3 separate regions of the Homo sapiens genome follow, and regions 2 and 3 are each linked to region 1. The links are contacts of gene promoters, found by promoter capture Hi-C in human tissues and cell types (Jung and others, 2019). All regions are on one chromosome and are shown on one strand. The core of a region is centred on a gene start or on the middle of the fragment in contact, and the rest is flanking DNA. Distances in the headings are between cores, read along the strand shown. Region 1 holds the start of HNF1A (HNF1 homeobox A). Region 2 overlaps SPPL3 (signal peptide peptidase like 3). Region 3 has its middle 33 kb from the start of ACADS.

The links. The method cuts DNA at HindIII sites, captures the fragments that hold promoters and counts their contacts. A contact is called where the count stands out against the background at its distance.
Region 2: a contact is called between a fragment that was not itself captured here and the fragment with the promoter of HNF1A in region 1, in 5 of the 25 tissues and cell types used here (H1 embryonic stem cells, dorsolateral prefrontal cortex, lymphoblastoid cells and 2 more).
Region 3: a fragment that was not itself captured here is called in contact with the fragment with the promoter of HNF1A in region 1 in 1 of the 25 tissues and cell types used here (stomach).

The regions. Positions count from the first base shown.
Region 1 is chr12:120,976,716-120,981,273 of GRCh38, reverse strand. HNF1A (HNF1 homeobox A) reads right to left here and starts at 2,731. Exons shown (of 10, transcript NM_000545.8): 1 at 2,180-2,731. The coding sequence starts at 2,505. The HindIII fragment of the contact is 9,653 bases long and covers 1-4,558 here.
Region 2 is chr12:120,800,722-120,805,227 of GRCh38, reverse strand. The region is part of intron 2 of SPPL3 (signal peptide peptidase like 3); the gene reads left to right. Among named protein-coding and RNA genes, the nearest start is that of ACADS, 77 kb to the right of the region's middle. The HindIII fragment of the contact is 8,897 bases long and covers 1-4,506 here.
Region 3 is chr12:120,756,147-120,760,605 of GRCh38, reverse strand. No RefSeq gene overlaps it. Among named protein-coding and RNA genes, the nearest start is that of ACADS, 33 kb to the right of the region's middle. The HindIII fragment of the contact is 6,965 bases long and covers 1-4,459 here.

The DNA of each region.
Region 1 (4,558 bases), core at 1,482-3,981:
GACACTGACTTCTCCCGGGAAACAGCTTCTACTAGACATTCTGCCTCTGTACCGTCTTCCCAGCCTCAACCTCCCCAATGGCCCAGGCCTTCAATAGGGGTCCCCCGCCCCTCTCTCCCTGGCTCCTTTCCTGACCCTGACGCTGGAGGCCCCACTTTTTTCACTCAGGGCGTTTTCCGATCCCTTTTGTTACCTGAACAATAAGTAACCCAGGTAGTTAGTTATAAACTCTGCAGGAACAAGGAGCTGGTTGATAATTTATAGCAACATCTCAAATTTAAATGGAAAGTAAATAGCATGCTGTTAGCATTAAAGAAAACCCAATCGGGGCAGGCGGGAAGCACTCCAGCCTCCTTGCAAGCTTGGGGCGCCTCATTCTCTCCCGTGCCCCTTCTCCCAGCTGGGTCTGAGCCCCCGCCCCCCTGGCTCCTCCGTTCTGCTTCTCCCAGCTTCTCTGTCCATCTCCCCCAATGGCCTCTCTCTACACTCTCTGCCTCAGCTTCCAGGTCTCTGCTGGTCCCTAGGAAGCACTTTGACCTCTGCTTCCCCTTCAAATGCTGTGGATCAAGCCTCCCCAACCCCACCATCCCACCAAAGGGGGCTGCTGACCGAGAGAGCTCACTCAGCCAGGTAAGAAAGCATCCCCTGCCCCCACCCTCACCCCAAAGCCCCCAGTCCCATCTGGGGCCCTGGGCAGGTCAGGCCCAGCCCCACCCCGTCAGGTTGCCTTCGCCCTGGGTCTGGGATGCCTGACTCTTTGCCCCTCCCCTGCAGCTCTGGAGTCCTTTGCCCTCCTCTTCCTGCCAAGTCAGGGGGCCCTGACTGCTCCCCTGCCCCCTGTCCAGGCCCTCGGGAGGCTCCCTGAGGCCTCTGGGAAAGCAGGAATCCACCAGCCCTCCCCCACCCCAGCTGGGATCAGGACCTTGGACAGAAAAGAGATGGGCCCCTTTGGAGCATCTTTGGGGCTCGGTCTCTCTCTGACTCCCTGGCCACCCCCTGCAGGCCTCTGGTCCCCGGTCATAGCAATTGAGAGCACCGAACAGAGTAGGTTTGGGGCCTCAGTTTGGTGAACTTAGTCTAGCTCCTTCCCGGCTCTAAGCCCCAGTTTCCCCATTTGTGAAGCAGAGTCACCAATAGCTTCTGCCCAGGACTCCTCACCATGAAGGGAAATTATTCCTGTGAAACCTCAGCACAGCGCCCAGGAAGTAGTGAACCTCCTCAAGCAGGCGCTGTAGGGTGGAGGTCAGGGAGCCGCTGGGGAGGGGTGGCCCCTGTAGCCCCCAGGCCATCCTTCCTTCTCCCCCACACCCCCATCCCCCACCCCCACTAGGTGGGAGGTGGGTTGGCCCAGATCTTTCCAGGCCACCATTCCTACAAGTTAATGATCACAGACCTTATCAGAGCCTTTTGCCATTTATAAATTTATAAAACAAAAGAGAAATAATAAAGCACATGGGTAATTAGTAACTAGGTCAGCTCTGCTGAGGAGAGGGGAGGCATCGAGCTCAGGACCCACCCAGTTCTCCAGGAGACGGGGAGTCCGCCAGCGGATGGGGATGTAGAACGGGCAGCCTCTAATGGCGCCTGCTGGTGAGGTGGGGTGCCTGTGGCCATACAGGAAAGGGGAGCAGCTCCCACCTCGAGGCTCTGTCTGCCTCAGGTAAGAAAGACCTGGGCTTCCCTGGCTAAACGCATGAGTCCCTAGGAGGCCAGGAAAGCCCCCAAACCCCAGCTTCGGGCCCTCCTCCCTGGCAGTGCTTCCTGGGCCCCGGAGCCTACCCACTGAGGACTCAGTGCAGGAGTTAGGGTCTGGAGAGTATAAATGATCAGAGTGGCTAAAAATTTCCACCACCTCCCAGTTCTCCAGGCATTTGAGTTGTGAACTCACCTGCTTTTTCTCCCATCTTGGACCCCCCTGGGAAATGTCCCCCTTGCCCAAGGACTGGGCTAAAGGCCTGGGCTCATGGGATTTGGGACTCTGCAGAGGAGCAGTTCAGGGGCTGGAGGCTCAAACCTCCAAGCAAGGACCCCTGGGCTCTCATGGGCCCTGTCCCCCTTCCCAGCAACTAGGCTAAAGGCTGAAGGTCATGGGGACTCAACTCAGAAGGGGGGCTCGTTAGGAGCTGAGGGGGGCCCCTCTAGGCTCTCCTGGGAGCGGGGACGGGGCAGGGCTCCTTACTGCAGAAGGGTCTCCACCACGGCTTTCTGGTGGGCCGCCTCCTCAGGGCTGAGGTTCTCCAGCTCTTTGAGGATGGGTGGCGTGAAGTCTTCCCCATCGTCGTCCGTCTCGTCCTCGGAGCCCCGAGTCTCCCCCAGCCCATTGGGCAGCTCAGCCAGCTCCCCTCGACCGCCGCCGCAGGACTCCCCCTTGTCCAGGGGGCCTTCTCCAGCCAGGAGGTAGGGCCCCGGCTCACCCAGTGCCTGGATCAGTGCCTCTTTGCTCAGCCCTGACTCGAGCAGGGCCGCCAGGAGCTCCGTCTGCAGCTGGCTCAGTTTAGAAACCATGGCTCGGCTGCCACAGGGCCACGCGGCCCGGGTCCACCACGCTAGCCGCCTCCCCCACCGCGTGGGTTGCGTTTGCCTGCCGGCCGGCAGACACAAACCAAACTCCTTGCACCCACTGCCCCCCCAAAACCCCACTAGCCAAGCCCTGTGGGCACCCCCAACCCCCAACCCTGGCCCCAGCGGCCCGTGAATCAGGGCCCCTGCCTGTTCTGTTTACATTGGAGCTGGGGAAATTCTCCAAGGTTCATATTTATCCGTGTGCTTAGCGAAGGGACTGAACTTTGGACTTCAGCCCTGCAAAGTGCAGGCCTCATGGCAGCGGAGAGGGACAGGGAGCTATGGCCTGCGATGGGAGTGGGCAGAGGGGAGGGTGGGGGAGGCGCAGGTGAGGGGCCCTGAGCAGCTGGGATGGAAGGTGCTGGGAGCCAGGGAGGCCATCAGGAGAGCAGCGTTGGGTCCCACCCCCGAAAGAACCTTGTAGGGGCATCATGCTGAGACAGGAGAGCCAAAAATGCTTGCTGCTTACGAGAGCGGCAGCAGCAGGGAGCTCTAGACAGCTGGGCTAGCTCTTCTCAAGGGCAGAGGATGCTCACGGCCATTTTGGGGCCCTTCCATCCATTTTGGGACCCTTCCACCCCACTCCCGGCCTGACACCAGGCCTCCCTGTAGGAAAAAATATGTTAAGATTACCATGTGCCAAGAACAGTGCTGGCTCTGTGAGGGCGAATTCACTTCATTGCATTCTGCTACCAACTGTGAGCAGTTACAGAGATTATCCCCATTTTATAGAGGAGGAAATCGAGGCTCTGAGCGGTTAAGTAACTTGTCCAGGGTCATACAGCCAGCAAGGCAGAAAACATGCAAGGTGAGACTGAGTTGGGATGAGTGTGACACTTGCCTCAGGTGCAAATTTATTTTTTTATTTTTTGAGCTATGTTCTCACTTTGTCACCCAGGCTGGAGTGCTGTGGCGCGATCATGGCTTACTGCAGCCTTGACTTCCTGGGTTCAGGTGATCCTCCCGCCTCAGCCACCCAAGTACCCAAGTAGCTGGCACTACAGGCACGCACCACGACACCCAGCTGATTTTGTGTGTGTGTGTTGTGTGTGTTTGGGTTGTGTGTGTGTGTGTTTTTGAGACAGAGTCTCACTCTGTCACCCAGGCTTGGAGTGCAGTGGAGCAATCTTGGCTCACTGCAACCTCCGCCTCCCAGGTTCAAGCGATTCCCCTGCCTCAGCCTCCGGAGTAGCTGGGATTACAGGCACATACCACTACACCCGGCTAATTTTTTTGTATTCTTTATTGAGTTGGGGTTTCACCATGTTGGCCAGGCTGGTCTTGAACTCTTGACCTCAAGTGATTCGTCCGCCTCGGCCTCCCAAAGTGCTGGGATTACAGGTGTGAGCCACTGTGCCCGGCCTTGTGTGTGTATTTTTTGTGGAGACAGGGTCTTGCCATGCTGCCCAGGTTGGTCTCAAACTCCTGGACTCAAGCCATCCGCCCACCTCAGCCTCCCAAAGTGTTAGGATTACAGGCGTGCGCCACCATGCCTGGCAGCCCAGGTGCAAATTTTAAGGGAATGCCAAAAAACCCAGTCATCAAGGTAAATAACATTTTTATGCAATATGTTTTTAAAATTAAAATGAATGCAAAACCCCAAAGAATTAAAAACAGATGTCTATACAAAAACTTGTGCGTGAATGCTCATAGCAGCATTATTCACAAGAGCCAAAAAGTGGAAAAAACATAAATATTCATCACCTGATGAATATATAAACAAAATATGGCTTGACCATGCAATGGTATAGACATATATATTTTTTTCTTTCTTTTTTTTTTTTTTTGAGATGGGGGTCTCGCTCTGTTGCCCAGGCTGGAGTGCAGTGGTGCAATCTTGGCTCACTGCAACCTCCGCCTCCCGGGTTCAAGCAATTCTCCTGCCTGAGCCTCCCGAGTATCTGGAACTACAGGTATGTACCACCACGCCCAGCTAATTTTTGTATTTTTGGTAGAGATGGGGTTTTACCATGTTGGCCAGACTAGTCTCGAACTC
Region 2 (4,506 bases), core at 443-2,942, 180 kb after region 1:
TACCATAAAGTTTGGTCACTTAAAGTATACAATTCAGTGGGTTTTAGTTTATTTACAAAATTGTTCAGCCGTCACTGTAATCCAATTTTAGCACATTATCATCCCAAAAGAAAATTTGTACCAGTTAGCAGTCATTCCCATTCCTCTTTCCCTGCCCGCCAGCCCTAGGCAACCATGAATCTACCTTTTATCTCTATAGATTTGCCTATTCTGGACCTCTCGTATAAGTGGTGTCATACAGTATGTGACCTTTTGTTACTGGCTTCTTTCACTTAGCATGTTTTTGAAGTTTATCTGTGTTGTAGCATGTTATCAGTATTTCATTCCTTTTTATTACTGAATAATACTTTTTGTTTTTCCATTCATTGGCTGATAGACGTTTGGGTTGTTTCCCTTTTTTGGCTTTTATGAATAATGTTACTGTGAACATTTGTGTACAAGTTTCTGTGCAGACATAACATATTTATTGCCCTCAAGCAGATACCTAGTAGCAGAATTGCTGGGTCTAATGGTAACTCTTAGTCTTAACATTTTAAGAAATGCTTCTGTTTTCCAAGGCAGCTATGCTATTGTACATTCCCACTAGCAATGTATGAGGTTTCCAATTTCTCCACTTCTTCACCAACACTTGTTATTATCTATCTTTATGATTATAGCTATTCTACTGTTCTGGTGGGTATGAAGTGGTATCTCATTATAATTTTGGTTTGCATTTTCTTAATGCCTACTGATGTTGAGCATCTTTTCATGTGCCCATTTGCCATCTATGTCTCTTCTTTGGTGTCTTTTCAACTCTTCTGTCCATTTTTAAATTGGGTTTTCTTTTTCTTGTTGAATTTTGAGTGTTCTTTCTTTATTGTGAAAATGGGTTTTTGTTATAAGTGCCTCTGGGTTTGTCTTTTCACTTTCTGTATGCTTATAATTGTTATCTATTTCTTGACTTTTATAAAATGTTCCTCTTTATCTCTAGTAACAGTTTCTGTCTTAACATTGTCCAAAAAAGGCTATTTAGATTTTCTTGAGTTAGTTTTTGGTCATTTGTATTATAACTCAAGAGTAACTAGTTCCTTTTTTGTAAAGGCAAGCACCTACCAATGCTTTCTTAGGTAATGAGGGCAGTTCATTTACGTATACCCAAACCTACTCTAGGAAGACAACATCAGGTTAGTAAGCCTGCAGAGATGCTGAGTTCTTTAATAAGAACTATACTTGATATGATTGTGATGCCCTTCATTCTAAGTGCATATAATTGTAGTTAGACCATGGTTCACCAGAACAAGTGTCACTATGGTTCACAATTGTCATGATGTTCTAATTGTGTGTAATATGTTGATTAACTTTTGAGCTACCCTTTTTGTCATTCCATAACTCGTCCTACTTGAAGAAAACATCATACACAGAAGCCTGAACTTGTTAGATGACGTAGGGAATGATTTTGTCCATTGCAGCGTGTGTAGACAAGTTTTTTTATATATTTAAGAATTTCATCAATTCACTATTAAATGTTCAATTTATAAAACCACTGTAAGTTTTCTAGGAACACATATTTAACTTAACCTAACTTTAACCATGTAATGTTTACCTTGAACCAGTGAGTCCCCGCTTCATTGTACTCACTTTCAATAGTAGAATTATCAAAAAACTTTCTTTTTAAAATTTTTTATAAATTAAAATTTTATTATTTTTTCATTTTTTCACTCCTTTCTGGAGCTGAGAAAAAAATAATGTTAAGGTTAAAAATTCCAATTTGCTTTTCTCCTCCAGTAATTCACAGTGTCCTCAGGTATCAGAATGCAAATGGATGAACGAGTATAACTTTCAATAAACTGATCTGCTCTCCCCTCCATTTTGCTTCCTACAATTGTTTATTTGTGCTCTTCACTGCCCGATTTCAGAGCATGTACTAACTTTTGCAAGTTACTTCAAGGAAAAATAAAATGGGGCCAAAGAAAACTAAAAGTATGAGTGGAGACAAAATAGAGCCAAAAAAGAAATGTAAAAATGCATACCATAATGCCAGCACTCCTGTTACTAGTGTTTCACAAGGACCACCATAAGCTTTGTAGCAGCCAGATTTAAAAAGAAAGAATGTAAAACTCAGCTTCCTTCCATCAAAAGAACTCAGTTGTTCAGGTGAATCGCAACTGTTCTTGGCCTTAAGATCAGACAGACTTTTATCCTAACGACCTTCATAAAGAGGATATAATGTTAAGTTCATTCATCTCACAGTAGGCATTCAAATAAGTGTTTGTTGAATGAATTGTAGTACCTTCAATATAAGTTGGTGGCATTGCATGAAAATGTATTTCAGCAAAAGCAGTTTTGCCAAAATTGAAGGTGCACAGTGGGCAACAGGATGTTGTTGTTTAGATAACCATCTTACTGCTAAGTGTGGTCTAAGGTTATATTTTGGAATATCTGGAGAATGAATGGGCTGTTAATTCTTAAACTGGTTATTCTTGAATGTTGATCTGTTAATAAATATTGGTAGCAGACCAGGCACGGTGGCTCACGCTTGTAATCCCAGCATGTTCAGAGGCCAAGGTGGGAGGATCACGTGAGGTCAGGAGTTCCAAGACCAGCCTGGCCAACATGGTGAAACTCCATCTCTACTCAAAATACAAAAATTAGCCAGGCGTGTTGATGCATGCCTGTAATCCCAGCTACTCAGGAGGCTGAGGCAGGAGAATCGCTTGAACTGGGAGGCAGAGGTTGCAGTGAGCCGAGATTGCGCCACTGCACTCCAGCCTGGGCCACAAACTGAGACTCCATCTCAAAAAGGAAAAAAAAAAAAAATATATATATATATATACACACACACACACACACATATATGTGTATATATATACATATATATGTATATATATACACACATACATACATACATACATATATAAAAGCAGCAGCCCAAAAATGTATTATGTTGCCAGCTAAATACAGACCTAGTTGTCTTAACAGCACTCATGGTGCATTCGTATTTTTATCAGAATGAAGGAACCTAATACCTAAATATAAGCCCATGTTTCCCCTTGTCCTGAGGCAGGCAGTGGAAGTTCCTAAAGGCAGGCCTAGAATCTTCCTCAGAAAATCCTTTTTAATCCACTCTAGGACATAAAGAAATGAGTAGTTGATTTCCTAAAGTTCTGTTCCTTGCAACTGAATTAATTCTAGCCTGAAACAAATTTAGGGCAAATATAACCAGATCTCTACCTCAGCCACACTAAAATCTTATTAAGGCACTCACAGAATATTAATATACTTCTTGATATAGTGTCTGTAATAAACTTCATGTGAAATGTACATCAAAGTGACCAAAACACCAAACTGGAATTTATACTTACACCCAATTTAAAGTTGAAGAATGTTGATGAGTTGTCATTCTAACTGACACTAATTAGCTGACAGGGTCAGTGGCCATCTGGACCTTACCCAGTTCAAGGCTAAACCATATCATTCACCTATAAAGCCTGCTGGTCTTAATATTTCTCTGTAGTAAGACAGCTCATGTGCAGCTTATCTAAAAATGATACCAGATCAAGTTTACTTGGGGAGAAATACTCTGTAGGTTTTTTTGTTTGTTTGTTTTTATGAGAAAAAAGCAGTATATACTAATGTGGAAAGATGTAGCGCGTCAAGCAGTGAGCCCATTACTTGGTGTAACAGGGCCAAGGGAAAACTTCCTCTGTGCCCCCTGAATCCTCGCTGAAAAATCCACTGACAAATAGCAGATTAATAGAAAAGGCATACAGATTTGTTAATGTGCACAAAAGTCTTACAAAATATAAGATCTCAAAAAAAAAAAATGGCCAGATGGCTGATGCTTTTATACCACCTTGAGGTTACAGAAAGAATGAGGGCTTGGAGTGTGGCAAGACAGGTTATGGTGGTAAATCAGGTTATGGTGGTGAGACAGATTATGAGAGAGAGAGAAGAGGAGGCCCAGCTAGCACAGGTGGTCCTGTCATGTAGATGAAACCTCACAGGTCGCAGCCCTGAGAGAGAATAGATGGAATATGTTTCTTTCTGACCTTCTAAGGTGTCAGACTCTCAATTAATCTTTCCTGTGTCTGGACAAGGTAGGGCCTCAGAGAAATGCCTCCACCTCATCAATGCATATTTTCTCTACAGATGCAAATCTGCCCCACACAGCTTCTCTCAGCTATTCTTGTATTTCCAGCCCTTCTGAAAACCATCTGAAATATGTCAGAGAAGTATATTTTTGGGTGAAATATTTTTGTTTCCTTCATAATTTTGCCAAGGCAGCAGGCATAAGCTGGAATTTGTGGTCACCCCACTCATGGAGTTTTTCTGTGAATCAAAAGAAACCTTGCCTGTAAAGCACCTAGCAGTGCCTGACAGTATGAGCTCAATCAAGCTTAACTATTATCATCATTTTAACCCCCTGGATGTTCTCAGCTGCTGAGTCAGAGACTGTTTCTTCCTGCCCAGGTTCTTAGTCTTTCTTTCTTAGTGTAGGTTCTATGTAAGTATCAATAATTGGACATT
Region 3 (4,459 bases), core at 1,553-4,052, 220 kb after region 1:
GCGGCAGACTCCGCTTCGCTTCTGGTTCCTTTCATTTGGAGTCTGCCTAACCAGTTTTTCTCTTAAGTTCCAAGACATCTTCTTCCTGTTGAGTAGAACCTGTAAAACACGCCACCTGTCTGCAGGCGAACAGAGGCTCTGAAGGTTCCAAAATAGCTAAGCCCACGAGCTGTCTCCAGCCCCCATGGAGTCCTGGGATTCTCACCAGATCCAAAGATGACAGGAATGGGAACCAGTTAGGCAGAGGAAGCAAGACTTGAGAGACTGGGAGTGGGGAAGCCGCCAGGCAGTGGGCAGCAGGCCTGCGCTTGTGAGGAATGGGAGACAGGAAGTGGGTGTCCACAGGACAGAGACGGAGGGGGACAGCACGATGGTCACTGCATTCAACCAAATGTCTGAAGACAAGCGATCCAGCCCCGGGATCCCGACACCAGTTGCTCTGTCTCACCAGAGAGCCTCTCTCCAGGCGGACCACCTGTCAGCCTGCTACTGCCACCTTTCACTCTGCCCACCTGGAGCTGCTGGAGTGTAGCCACCACGTGAGCTTCTAGCTTTTGTGTTTGAGCCTTTGCCATTAGAGATTGAATTTCCTCACACCTGCGGTTGCTGTCGTGCCTTGATGGGGTTTTTATCCCCAGGCAGATAGTAACATATCCTGTGACAGCTCCCTGGGGAAGGCGGAAACCAATTTCAGAGAAAGAGGCTGAGCGCTTGCTAGTGCAGGGAGGAACTAAGATGACGAAGCATCGCACGGATGAGTCGTGGCCTTGCCGGCTTGACGGCGGGTAGAATGCAGTGCCACCCTCCCCAAGACCACCATCTGGCCAGGAGCCCCGGCCCCACCTTTCCTCCTTCGCTTGTGCCTCCTGGCACTTCCCGCAGCCCTCCCCTGTTGAGTGTAGGCGTTCTGCCCGGGGCAGTCGCTGTGAGAGAGGCCATGGCCTGGACTAGGGTGATGCGAAGAACAGAACTTGCTACCAGATTGGATGCAGGGTTGGGGACTCCACAGTGACTCCACACTTCTTAACCTGAACAATGAATTGCCAAAATAGATAACAGAAGAAATTGGGGAAGAAGAGTTGTTCTAGCCAATAGAGCAGCTAAAGCCAAAAAAAAAAAAAGTCTTCAGTGATGTAAAGCCTTGCAGAGTATGCGAGATGACCTGGACAGTGAGAGGCAGGAGGAAGACTGCTCTGTGGTGCTCTGAGTGTGAAGGCATTTGTCATGCGCATCCCCCACACAGCCACCATGGGGCTCTGGTTAGGGATGGAGCCCCCTGAGTCCGAGCTGCTTCATCTGAAATGGGGATGAAGGTGCCTCATAGAAAGTATTGAGTAAATATGAGGCGCTCTTCTGGTTTACTGTGTTCTCATATATTTCACACACAATGCTCAGAGAGTTGGAATACAGTTAAAATCATTAGATCTGTACGCTGTCATTATTCAAACCACCACAGCTCCCGGTTCATCATTAGGAATACTGGTTCTCTCCCCTCTGCTGAGGGGTGATTTCCCCCATCCAGGGTCTTGAAATTTTCTTCTACACACTGAAAGCCTTAGCACAAAGCTCCATATGCAGAGGGGGATGGTGGGTGACCCTGCCCATGCAGTTCCTCATTTTGGCTTCTTAAGGCCAAGAAGATCAACCTCTACCCAGATTCTGCACACAAACCAGTGTTGACGTTTTTATTTTTCTGTACTTTTTTTTTCCATAATAAACACTGCATGTGCCCTCTTTAACTTCAGTGTACTTTAAAGTCTTACTGCTTGTTTTGAGGGAAAAGTTTACTACACTGTGAAGCTCCCATTCTGTCAGTCTTTTGTGGGCCTGTATTAGTTGATACATCTAGGTTTTTCTTGAACACCCTTGGAACAAAAGACTCATGGGCCAGGGCCGGGCTCGGTGGCTCACGCCTGTAATCCCAACACTTTGGGAGGCCGAGGTGGGTGGATCACCTGAGGTCGGGAGTTCGAGACCAGCCTGACCAACATGGAGAAATCCCGTCTCTACTAAAAATACAAAATTAGCCGGGTGTGCTGGCATATGGCTGTAGTCCCAGCTACTCGGGAGGCTGAGGCAGGAGAATCGCTTGAACCTGGGAGGTGAAGGTTGCAGTGAGCCGAGATCGCACCACTGCACTCCAGCCTGGGTGACAGAGCGAGACTCCTTCTCAAAAAAAAAGACTCATGGGCCAAACTCCTATCCTGTGTTAAAATAAAACACAGTGTCATTCTAAGCCACTTGGCTCAGGTCAGTCCACTGAATAGGAGAGGGACAGTAGCCAGACTAGAGAGAGTGAAAGAGGAGATTCCAGCCACGCATTTGGAAAATTCTCAGTCCTCCAGGACACAGTGAAGCAATCAGGGCTGAGGCACCGTCTGATGAAGCAGATCAATAACTGGTGGGATGACCCATGACCCTCCCCAAAAGTCGCTGATGAAGGAGCTGATGCTACCTTGAAGGGATGGGCCCGGGCTTCGTCCTCAGCCCTGTCCTGTCCCACATCCCTCTTGATCATTTGGCCAGGGACACAGTTGCCAGGCTTCATTTGAGGAGAACGTGAAGCAAGGAGAAGGGACATACTCATGACCTAAAGAAAGCTCAGAGGCCTGGGGTGTCAAAGCAGATCTGGGGAGATCTGCTGGAGAGAGCCCCAGCCAATGATGGCCACACACCGGGTGTCAGTCATGCCTCCCAAGAGCCCTTTAATAAAGGCAGGTGCCATTACTGTCACCATTGTCACAAAGGAACTCGCCAAGACCCCAAGATCACAAATTGCTAAGTGGCAGAATAAGCTCTAAACACTGTCCCTAATCATTATATTCCATCCTCATCCCAGGATTAGAAATGATCTCCACCCCAGAAAATACAGGTAAGGCATAAACACTGATGGCTCTAGGGCCTACTCTTAGTTCCAAATACATTTAAATCCTACTCTTAGTTCCAAATACATTTAAATCCATCCACTGCCTGTAGCAAATAAAGATTCTTGCAACAGCGTCTGCCTGGGTCTCCCTAACTGCAGAGTGTGTTCCATGCTGTGGGCCAGAATGGTGGCCTGTCATCTCAGATCTTCAGTCTCATTATGTAACGGCAGATTTTATCATCCATTTTATGTACCCAAAGTTTCAAGGGCAGCTAATTTGCCCCAGATCTTCCTGCTTCCAGAGACTGAGCTCATTGCCCAGATTATGAGAAAATAATCACAGCCAGGTTTTGTAGACACGACTTGTTTAGCATACATACAGAACTGTGGGGAGTTTCTGTAAACAGGGAAGGACCATGCAAACAGCATCGTATTGGAGATGGAGATCCACCAACCCTAGTAGGTGGCAGGAAAGAGCTGGGGTTTTGGCTGCCAAGCCCTGGGCTGACCCAGCTGCTGTCCAGAAGGGGCATGCCGACACCTTCCTCTCCAATAATGCTGCAGCAGTGTTGACCATTACTCATGAGAGGGTATCACCTCACACAAACTAGGAGTTCCTAGGAGGAGGGGACCAGGATGCATGCCTCCTAGCAAGCCAGGCTTAAACTAGAATCTTTGAGGCATTCAAAGCAACTGGATTTCATTGTTAAAATTATGACTACCCTATTGCTGATTGATTTTTTTTTTTTTAAGACAGGGTCTTACTGTGTTGCCTAGGCTGGAATGCACTGGTGCAGCCATAGCTTACTGCAACCTCCTACTCTTGAGCTCAAGCAATCCTGCCTCCCAAAGTGCTGGGATTACAGGCATGAGCCACCACACCCAACCCACTGCTGATATTAAAACAAGCCATAAAAACATAAAAACAACTGTCAGCTGCTGTTCTGATCCCCAGTAATACTGGGCTGTTATTCAAATCAATCCTCTGGCTAAAAACAACTTTAAAATATACATGAAATACAGAAAATACCATGTATAAGCCCTGCCTAAATCTGATTTCTGAAATACACAGAGGGCAGACTCTAAACAGCCCAGCTAAGGCCAAAAGAAATAAAGACAAATTTCAGCTGCTGCCCACCAGAGGAGGATCAAAGGGTTTTTTTTGCTTGTGTTTTGCCTTTTCTTTTCTTTTCTTTTTTTTTTTTTTTTGAGACTGAGTCTCGCTCTGTCACCCAGGCTGGAGTGCAGTGGTGCAATCTCGGCTCACTGCAAGCTCCGCCTCCCGGGTTCACGCCATTCTCCTGCCTCAGCCTCCAGAGTAGCTGGGACTACAGGCGCCCACCACCATGCCCGGCTAATTTTTTGTATTTTTTTTAGTAGAGACGGGGTTTCACCGTGTTAGACAGGATGGTCTCGATCTCCTGACCTCGTGATCCACCCACCTCGGCCTCCCAAAGTGCTGGGATTACAGGCGTGAGCCACTGAGCCCGGCCGCCTTCCTTTTCTTAAATTTGAGACAAAGTCTGTGTCTGTCACCCACACTGCAGTGCAGTGGTACAATCATAGCTCACTGCAGCCTTGATCTCCTAAGCT